3 separate regions of the Homo sapiens genome follow, and regions 1 and 3 are each linked to region 2. The links are contacts of gene promoters, found by promoter capture Hi-C in human tissues and cell types (Jung and others, 2019). All regions are on one chromosome and are shown on one strand. Each heading gives the region's core, a stretch centred on a gene start or on the middle of the fragment in contact. The rest is flanking DNA. Distances are from core to core; before and after follow the strand shown. Region 1 has its middle 37 kb from the start of ZSCAN5A. Region 2 holds the start of ZSCAN5B (zinc finger and SCAN domain containing 5B). Region 3 holds the start of LINC01864 (long intergenic non-protein coding RNA 1864).

Region 1 (3,584 bases), core at 536-3,035, 150 kb after region 2:
CCACTCTTGTGAAAATTGTTCTAGTCAAGCTACTATTTGCAATAGAACTAAACGCTGTGGCACTCACAATGTGGAATTCTGGTTGTAAAATTCTAATTGCTGTAATATTTTGCCAGATTATCATCCTTATAACAGGATTAATAATTGCAGGAAAAATTTAGTCAAGGTTGTTTTGCTTATAGCAGGACTAATAGTTATGGATAAGAAGCATGAAAGTTATACCATCACTAAGTTTGAAAAGACTTTTTACTAAAGGTTGGTAATATAATACACACTATGAAAAGGTTATAAAGGAAGAGATTTTATGTACGGAAGGATTTTGTATGGTAAATTCTTGTACTAAAGGGAAATAACCGGTTGTTTAAAGAAAGGATGTTTAGGACAAATCAAAAAGTGTAAAGGTGTTGTAAGAAGGTTTATAAAAGTCATAAAAGAATTTAGTAATTAAAGGAAAGGAATTGTCAAAATTAACGCTAAAGTTATTTTAGCCACCCAATAATGTCTTTCTCCCAATCATATTGCAAGTTGTAAAAATGGCCTAGGCCTAAAGTTATTCTCTAACGGCAGATTAAGGGGGAAATGTCCGCTTTTCTCTAGGAAAAAGTTACCGCTATATTAACGTTTCTGGTAATGTACACCGACATCTAGTGGAGGCAAGCCAGTATTGCAATCCATTGGTGTAACTAAAAGGTGTCAAACTCTACTGTCAGTTATGGTCTAACAGGGCCCCCCACTAACGGTGGTAATTTTAATAATTGTATCCTAACCCTACATTTTAAATCTTCTTGTAAAATTTATATTTTTTCACCTTAAATCAAATAAAGTTTAATATTTTAATATTTTATTAAATAATGTTTTATTTAATAAAACATTAAATAAAGTTTAATAGAAGCAATTAAACTTTAAATGGTGCTGTGAGCTGAGCCACACACAGACATGCCATTCTTCTGAGAACCTCAGATCAACCACAGGAGAAGGCCCAATTGCTGTCCCCCCCCAACCACACGCCCCTTTTCAGCAGACAGTACCCAGAAAGAATCATCATCTAACACCCCCTAACAGCAGTTAGGTTTACTTCTCTTTGAGGGGGGGATATTACAGGAGTTATTAAGAAATCATTTTAGGCATACAGTAAGGGTAAAGGTTCTTGGTGAAAATTTTCCTGTAATAAGAAATCTCTTTTCTAACCAAGCAATCTCTTTTCTAACCAAAAAGGCGGCTTCAAGGGCCGGGCTGACAAGCTTTGATATGCAAATGCTGGCCACTAGAAACTGGGTCCACTCAACATGGTGATTCCCACCGTCTTCTCCTTGTTACCACCTGTGCAAAGTGTGAAGGCCACCTCCAAGTAACACCATGTGTTCAAACCATCATGGCAACCCACATTTGCATATTAAAAGGCTATGGCGGGAGGGCCTGGTTTCTCCCAGGCTACATGAATAACACACCTGGTCAAGCCAATCCTTTGGGCCCTATGCAAACCAGATACTGCCTCCTCCAGCCTCCAGATATAAGGGACTGTCTTTCTGTTGCGCACAGGGTCTATCTCTGTTCCTTTCCCATGTCTCAGTACGGGGGAGCTGTTCTCTTCTTTCTTCCTTCTTACTTGCTATTAAACTTTTCACTCCTTAAAACTACTCCACATGTGTCCATGTCGTTAATCCTATCAGCACCAGACCAAAAAGCCTGGTAATCGTCCAGTCATCGGAGCTGTATCAAAATGAACTTGGGCTGCTCTGTCCCAATGTCTCCATCCTTTGCATCTTAACCTGTCGCAGAACAAGAAAAGTGGTGCCGCTAAGATTGCACAGGTGCAGCGAATACGAACCTGGGAAGACTGTGGTGTTTCTTTAGATGGCTGGTGGATCTATCTGGATTGAAGGGATTCCTTTTCCCAGCAATAATTTTACAGACCTGAGACGTTTGCAAGATGAAATTGTGTTGCGGGATGAAGATGTCATTACACTTTCTTACCCAAAGTCAGGTAGGGAAGTGGGACCCGAAACTCAGGAAGGGATGCGGTGAAGATACTGATGGAGTGCCTTCTTTATGCCCTGCGCTTGGGTATGCTTTGGTGGATAGTGTGGGGTTTTTTTGTTTGTTTGTTTCTTTGTTTTTGAGACGGAATCTCGCTCTGTCACCCAGGCTGGAGTGCAGTGGCACGATCTCAGCTCACTGCAAGCTCCGCCTCCTGGATTCACGCCATTCTCCTGCCTCAGCCTCCCAAGTAGCTGGGACTACAGGCGCCGATAGTGTGGTGTTTTAACAAAGCTTCTACTCAGAGAGACGGATTAAACCAGACAATTAAACATAATGCAAATGAATGTGATTACTGGGGCACTGTAGAGACAGAGAGAGACATGAGATCCCACAGAAGCTAAGGCAGATTTAAGTGATCATGCAGGATGGTTAGAAGGGACTGATTATTGAAAGAATTTCGGTGAAAAAATAAACATTTATCCTTAGATGCTGAGCGTGAATGTGAGACTGTTAGATGTAAAAGAAAAAATATTCTGACACTTGGGTAAATGGTGAGGAAGAATATTCAAGACAATTGCAACAGGGGAGAGAGACCCAACTCTGAATATAGCAATGATAGTTGGTTTTTTGTAGACAATTATCAAAGTAAGGCGGTCAGTGGGTGGGAAATTACAAAGAACAACTTGATTAGGTATCAGGAGCAGAATCCTTGCTAAAGGCAGGCCAAAGATTTAGACATTAAGAGTGGAACATGGGAAATCTGATCAGGTATCAAGGATGGGGGGATTCTCATTACCCTTGTTGAAACTGGGTGCAACACAGTTTCAACACAGATGTCCAAAGTCCAGGCCTAGTCAGGAAGAGGACTCAGGGAAGCCCAAGTCAAGTCTGGTCGAGGAGAAGGTCTTTGCCAGATGGCAGTGTTTCGATCTATTACACTACAGACATTGTGGGCCACATAATACATTTTCAGGGGGAAGAGGGCTGTCCTGTGCATTGTAGGATGTTTAGCTGCATCCCTGGCCCCTGCCCACTGGAGTCAGTAGCATACTCAAGTGTGATAACTCAAAATGTCTGCAGTCACTGTTAATTTTCCCTTGAGGTGGACACAGTTTACCCCAGCTGAGAACCGCATGGATGAGGAGAAGGCACATACATATGCCTGAGGTTTCAGGCAAAGAATAGTAGACATGTGTTGGTGTCATGCATTGAGGCAGAGATCGCTGGTGGAGAAGCACATACAGGGAAGCTGGGATTATCGAGTGTAACGGATACTACAGTGTAACTAGAGAAAGAATATGAAAGGTGGGAAAATGGGAGTGAAAATATTGTAATATTTAGCAAGTGCATGTGTGCAGTGGTTCAATGGTCTATTCTGTGCATTAAGACTATTTGGTGCCATTGTTTTACTGGGCTGAGCTTATTTCACTTAACATAATTTCTTCCAGTTCCCTCCCTCCATGTTGGCTGCACATGACAGTTTTGCTCTTTTTAAAATGATATTGAGGCCGGGCGCGGTGGCTCACGCCTGTAATCCCAGCATTTTGGGAGGCCGAGGCGGGCGAATCAGGAGGTCAGGAGGTCAGGAGATCGAGACCATCCTG
Region 2 (3,525 bases), core at 127-2,626:
CAGCATGGTGACTATAGTTCACAGCAATGTACCGTATACTTGGAAATTGCTAAGGGAGTCGATTTCAAGTGTTGTCCAAAAATGATAAGACAGTGAGGTAGAGCCTATGGCAGTTTGCTCGATTTAGCCGTTGCACAATGCGTACACACCTTGACACACTATGCTGTGCACCGGACATATACACCATTATATATTTATATTTCTCAATTTGAAAGTAAATTAGGCCTGGTGCGATGGCTCACTCCTGTCACCCCAGTGCTCTGGGAGGCGGAGGTGGCAGGATCACTTCAGCCCAGCAGTGAACCGCGATTGTGCCACTGTGCTCCAGCCTGGGAGACACATCCAGCGGCCATCTCGTTTTGTTTATTTATTAAGTAAATCGATACATTTTTTAAAAGCATACAGATATGAGAAAAGGCAGCCTGAAATTCTGGGAATTAAAGAGGTTTTCCCGCCAGGTTCCCTAAGCGCCCCTGCTCAGAAAGCGGAGATCGAGGCTGAGGCGGGCAGATTGCTTGAGCCGAGGAGTTCGAGACCAGACTGGGCAAAGCAGCGAGACCACGTCTCTATAGTAAATAAAAAAATGCACTCGGGCGGTGTGGTGGTGTGCTCCTGCAGCCCCAGCTAGGTGGAGGCCGAGGAGGGCACATAGCTTGAGCCTGGGAGTTCCAGGCCAGCCTGGGAAATGAGCGAGACCCCGTCTCTGAAAAATAAAATGAAACAAAACCTAACCATGATGAGAAAGTTAACATTATTACTTTATTTTTCTCCTTTTTTTTTTTTTGAGACGGAGTTTTGCTTTGTTACCCAGGCTGGAGTGCAATGGCGCGACCTCGGCTCACTGCAACCTCTGCCTCCTGGGTTCAAATGACTCTCCTGACTCAGTCTCCCGAATAGCGGGTATTACCCTAACCTCTGCCTCCTGGGTTCAAACGACTCTCCTGACTCAGTCTCCTGAATAGCGGGTATTACGGGCGCCCGCCACCACGCCCGGCTAATTTTTGTATTTTTGTTAGAGTCGGGGTTTCACCATGTTGGTCAGACTGGTCTTGAACTCCTGATCCCGTGATCTGCCCACCTCGGCCTCCAGAGTAGCTGGGATTACAGGCGTGCGCCACTGGGCCCGACCGAGAAAGTTAATATTATTCCTAGTTTACAGAAGCACTTCATCGCCAGTCAGAGTTAATCATGGGGTGCAAAGGAGACCCGCTGCCTTCACAAAGTCTCCGAGAAAATAAATGCATGAGAAAATAAACCCAAACTTTCTGAAACCAACCCCCCGCATGCCAGCTCCGAAACCCCACAGCCATCGCCGCTGGACACTCACCTCCTTCCCGGCTTCTGCCTCCGACCTTCTCGGTCTGGGATGCGCTCTCCAACCGGCCTGGAGCTGAACTGCGTCTATTTATGGAGAAGCGGGACTCCAGGCCGCGTTTCCGGTTCCCTGCGCCGCGCCGTGATTGGTTTAGGGCCACAGAGTCCATTTTCGTAATCGGCGTTGATTACATTTCCCACTGAAACCCCACCCACAGGAAATTAATGTATTAAACGTGCCTACTGTGCAAATAATACAGGTTTTCCCGCTCTACTGAGTTGTCATATTGCTGAAGTATGTGGAGGCCTCAGAAAATATAGATCTGCAAGTTTTAACCACTTTGGGTCCCCTCATGCCACAGACAGTAATATCCTAACAAGTAAAGGACGTGTTAAGAGCTGGTTGACTTCGCTTATTAAAACAAAACGGAAAAAGAAAAAAAAAAGAAAAATTCAAAATAGAGTTGGTTGATTAATATCAAACCAGTGATTTAATCTCATTTTTAATCTCATTTGAGCGAAGCTTTCACACGCGAATTCCAAGATGTTGAAAATTGTGGACACTCGTTGATATGTAATGAATGTTTGTGATAATTTTTTACTTTTTTATTTTTTTCAAAATCTTGGAATTGGCATGTGAAAGCTTTGTTCAAACTAAACTAAATCACTGATTTGATATCAGCCTTATATAAAAGCAGTGGGAACCAGAGAAAGGCACATGGTCCCCACTCTGCATTCATTCCAGGACGGTGATAGGGTGGTTTATAGATACACTGAGGGTCCTACGGGGTTCCCTAGTTCTCAGCCCCCTCAGTTAGGGCTCTCAAGCAAGAAAAGCCTTAACGGTGGGTGTGAATTTTACTGTGTGGATCATGGAGTTAATGTGGAATGATAATTAAGTGCTAGGCAGGATTAGATTACAATTTGGGAAGTTCACACCATCAGTTGGATGACACTAATCCATTCAAGTAGTGACTCATTCATTTTAATTTCAGAGGAAACCTTCTCGTCTAACCTTTAGGACAAATTGGAGGGCTGTTAATTTTACACTGATTCTGGTTTAAATCCTTGGAAAATCTTAAGCCGCTTCACTCTGGGAACTTCAAACTTCTTGTGACTAGAACCTTCCTGATGTGTTGTTTTGAAGATGCAATAAGACTGGGTCAATAAAGTGCTCGATACAAGGTCATTTTGCCAAACAGTTGTGACAATTATTTTCTGGTGCATTTTCTCATACTTTGTGATATTTTCCCTTCTTAACCACTGAGGTGTTGACAATGGGTTGGAGTTAAGAATGGAATTAATGGCCGGGCGCGGAGGCTCACGCCTGTAATCCCAGCACTTTGGGAGGCCGAGGCGGGCGGATCACGAGGTCAGGAGATCGAGACCACCCTGGCTAACACGGTGAAACCCCGTCTCTACGAAAAATACAAAAAAGTAGCCAGGCGTGGTGGCAGGTGCCTGTAGTCCCAGCTACTCGGGAGGCTGAGACAGGAGAATGGCATGAACCCGGGAGGCGAAACTTGCAGTGAGCGGAGATCACACCACTGCACTCCAGCCTGGGCGACAGACCGAGACAGCGTCTCAAAAAAAAAAAAAAGGAATTATTCACTGGAATTAACTGGGAGCTGCCTAAACCACCATCTTCCTATCTGCTTCCCCCGAATCCTCCCCTCTGGAAACTCACAGTCTATTTCTGTGAAGTATGTTGTTGGTATTTTGGTAGGGATCGCATTGAATCTGTAGATGTCTATTAATAGTATGGTCTTTTTCACAATGTTGATTCTTCCCCCTACGAACATGTCTTCCCATTTTCTGGGGTCCGCTTTAATATTTTTCATTAGTGTTTAACAGTTTTCCTTGTGGAAATCTTTCACCTCCTTAGTTAAATTTACTTCCAGGGTTTTGGGGTGTCTTTTGCTCTTGTAAATGAGATTGCTTTCTTGATTTTTTTCTTGCCACTAGTTCGTTGTTGGTGTATAAAAACACTACTGATTTTTGCATATCGACTTAGTATCTGGCCACCTTACTGAATTGGTTTATCAATTCTAAGAGTTTTACTGGTGGAGGTTTCAGGGATTCTTATAGATGACATCATGTTGTTGGCAAAGAGAGACAATTCGACTTCCTCCTTCTGAATTTGGATGCCCTTTGTTCGTTGCTCTGGTTGAGACTTTCCCAACACATTATTATTAACGAAGGTCACCAGGC
Region 3 (3,353 bases), core at 694-3,193, 130 kb before region 2:
TTTTTTTTTTGAGACAGTTTTGCTCTTGTCACCCAGGCTGGGTTGCAATGGTACAATCTAGGCTCGCTGCAACCTCCGCCTCCCGGGTTCAAGCAATTCTCATGCCTCAGCCTCCTGAGTAGTGGGGACTACAGGTACCCGCCACCACGCCTGGCTAGTTTTTGTATTTTTAGTAGCGATGGGGTTTCTCCATGTTGGCCAGGCTGGTCTCGAACTCCTGACCTCAGTTGATCCACCCGCCTTATCCTCCCAAAGCACTGGGATTACAGGTGTGAGTGACCATACCCAGCCTGGCCTCAGAGCTTTGAATAATAGGGATGATACCTTGATTTCTACCCAACTCCTTGTTTCTTATTCTAAATTCCTAAACGTAGAGGATGAAGTAATGATGAGTCTGTATAAACCCTATAACCCTATGTGCTGGCCGCTGCCCTCAGGCTGATAGTGCAGGACAAAGATCCCTGTTCTCCTAAAATGTATTACCTTCTAATGAAGGACAAATGCATGAATTGCAGCTGTTCTCACAGCTAAAATGGCAGGTTCGCAAGAGACTAGGACTATTCTATTTTTCTAGACTAGCTATCTTTGAGGTCTGAGAAAAACTTTTTTCTGCACTGCTGGTTTTTCGTCAAGTTTGGGACATGACATACCATGAAAATGTACCCTTCCTACATAGTTTTTCGTTTTGTCTTGTTGTTTGTTTTTAACATTTGTACCACGGGGAGGGAAGAGCATCAGGAAGGCAACGGACCCGGTCCTGGAGGGCAACCGTGGGGAGTCCCAGGCCCCCGCTGCCTGGTGCATCACATCGTGGGTAGGACAGGTGGGAGCGCTGTCTCCCTGCTGATCTGGGCTCTTATCTCTATGAGGAAGGACCCTTTCCTCACCCGTGAGTCAAACGATAGAGAATTCACCTCCACCTGCCAGCCACGCTGTAGCTGGGGTGTGTGTGGAGCCGCACAAACTCTGATGCTTTGAGCTGCATGGCACAGAACGTCCACCTGAGATCACTGCGTAGAAGCTTCCTGGGAAGGCAATTCCAGGGTCAGTGAACCCCGCGGGACGCCAGCTCCCTGGTTGAGTTTCCCCTGATGGCCGCTGGGTGGCAGCAGAGCGTCATCTTCCCTGAGACCCTCCCGGGAGCAGGGCGGGCTCCTCCCCGCATCCCCACTGTGGATTTTCTCACCGCAGGCACTGCTGACGGTGGGACCGGCCACTTCCACATCGGGGTCCCGCCTGTGGGCTGTAGGGTGTTCAGTGACGTCCCTGCTTTTACCTGCCAGGTGCCTTCCCTCCCGCAGTTGTGACAACCAAGAAAGTCTTCAGACACAGCCGGATGTTACCCGGGGCACCAGCCTGAGACCCGCTGGTCCACGGGAAGCAGGGAGCCCTCCCTCACCAGCACACCCAGCGGCCTCCCCTTCCCCTCGCCGGACGCGACTGGCTCACAGGAAATCCGTGTCAGCCCTGCTCAGAAGGTATCAGCCACTTGTTGGTTCTATTGGAGGTGACAGCTGCTTAGCAGACACCCAAGAATGTAGGTTTGTTCTTTAGCTTTATTCCCCATTGTCAAAATGGAATCAACCAAGATTATCTGGAGGCCCAGGTGTAAAATGAAAATGTGGGTGCTTTGTTCAAAAATTAAGAATTTCAAGATGACTGTGAGTCACTATACTGAGTGCAAAGCCATTCTGAGCCGGGGTCCTGGATGAATGACCCAAGCAGCTGGCCTCCATTGCAGCTGACTGGACCAGGAGCTAGCGTTTGAAGAACAGCCAGTCTTTAAGCTGCCTAATGACCTGTAGGCCGCCTGTGACCAAGGTAAGAGATGAAGTAGGTATCCTTGTTCACAACAGCCAAAAGGTGCAGACAACCCACGTGTCTATCAGCAGATGAATGGGTAAACAAAATGTGGTCTATCCACACAATGAAATATTATTCAGCCATGAAAAAAAGAATGCAGGCTGGGTACAGTGGTTCATGCCTGTAATCCCAGCACTTAGGGAGGCTGAGTTGGGAGGCTCACTTGAACCCAGGAATTTGAGACCAGCCTGTGCAACATGGCGAAACCCCGTCACTACTAGAAATACTAAAAATTAAATAGGTATGGCGGTACAAGCCTATAGTCTCAGCCCGTTGGGAGGCTGAGGTGGGAGGATCACTTGAGCCTGGGAGGTCAAGGCTGCAGTGAACCGAGATTGTACCACTGCAGTCTCCAGCTTGGGTGACAGAGTGAAACCCTGTCTCATTAAAAAAAAAAAAAAAACAACAGGTGCAGTGGCTCATTCCTGTACTTCTAGCACTTTGGGAGGCTGCAGCAGGCAGGTCACCTGAGGTCAGGGGTTCAAGTCCAGCCTGGCCAACATAGTGAAACCTCGTCTCTACTAAAAATACAAAAATTAGCCCAGGGTAATAGCGTGTACCTGTAATCCCAGGTACGCAGGAGGCTGAGGCAGGAGAATCACTTGAACCCAGGAGGCGGAGGTTGCAGTGAGCCGAGATGGCACCACTGCACTCCAGCCTGGGCAACAAAGTAAGACTCCATCTCAATTTAAAAAAAAAAGGAATAAAGGAATATAGTAGCGATACGTGCTACAACATGGATCAACCTCATAAACATTATCCACTGTAAAGAAGCCAGATACAAAAGGCCACTTGTATGATTCCATTGATATGAAATGACCAGAAGAGGGAAATCCACAGAGACACAAGATGAGAGTTTGCCCAGGGCTGGGAGAGGAGCAGGGAATGAGTGACTCTTCCTGGCACGGGGTTTCCTTTTGGAGTGATAGACGTACAACTATGTGAATATACTAAAGCATTATTTAATTGTACACCTTAAAATGGGTGAATTCCATGGTTTGTAAATTATTTTTTAAAAAGCAAAAAATGATGAACCAATATAGTTGCCTCCATCTGAGATCTGATTCAGAATTCCTGAGGAAATAAAGCAGTTAAAAGGCAGGAAATTAGGCTGGAAATTTATTAGTGAAAGTGGAAGATGTGGTTTGCAGAGTGGAGAGAGCTCAGGGCTGTACTTTTATGCAGGGGGTGTTATCAGCACAGTATCCAGGGCTTGTGAAGTTTTCATTAGCCTGAAAATATCTTAGAAACCTGGCAGGGTGTGGTGGCTCACGCCTATAATCCCAGCAATTTGGGAGGCCAAGGTGGGTGGGTCACTTGAGGTCAGGAGTTCAAGATCAGCCTGGCCAATGTGGTGAAACCCCATCTGTATTAAAAACAAAAAATTTAGCTGGGTATGGTGGCAGGCGCCTGTAATCCCAGCTGCTTGGGAAGCTGAGGCACAAGTATCACTTGAACCCAGGAGACAGAGGTTGCAGTGAGCCAAGATC

The links. Contacts are between HindIII fragments. The study calls those that stand out against the background at their distance.
Region 1: a fragment that was not itself captured here is called in contact with the fragment with the promoter of ZSCAN5B in region 2 in 2 of the 25 tissues and cell types used here (H1 embryonic stem cells and pancreas).
Region 3: a fragment that was not itself captured here is called in contact with the fragment with the promoter of ZSCAN5B in region 2 in 4 of the 25 tissues and cell types used here (liver, neural progenitor cells, spleen and 1 more).

Annotation. Positions count from the first base shown.
Region 1 is chr19:56,350,002-56,353,585 of GRCh38, forward strand. It overlaps a transcript of ZSCAN5A not described here. Among named protein-coding and RNA genes, the nearest start is that of ZSCAN5A, 37 kb to the left of the region's middle. The HindIII fragment of the contact is 3,268 bases long and covers 152-3,419 here.
Region 2 is chr19:56,196,407-56,199,931 of GRCh38, forward strand. ZSCAN5B (zinc finger and SCAN domain containing 5B) reads right to left here and starts at 1,377. Exons shown (of 5, transcript NM_001080456.5): 1 at 1,328-1,377. The HindIII fragment of the contact is 13,117 bases long and covers 1-3,525 here.
Region 3 is chr19:56,065,498-56,068,850 of GRCh38, forward strand. It overlaps LINC01864 (long intergenic non-protein coding RNA 1864), which reads left to right and starts at 1,187. Exons shown (of 4, transcript NR_110741.1): 1 at 1,187-1,478. The HindIII fragment of the contact is 3,019 bases long and covers 435-3,353 here.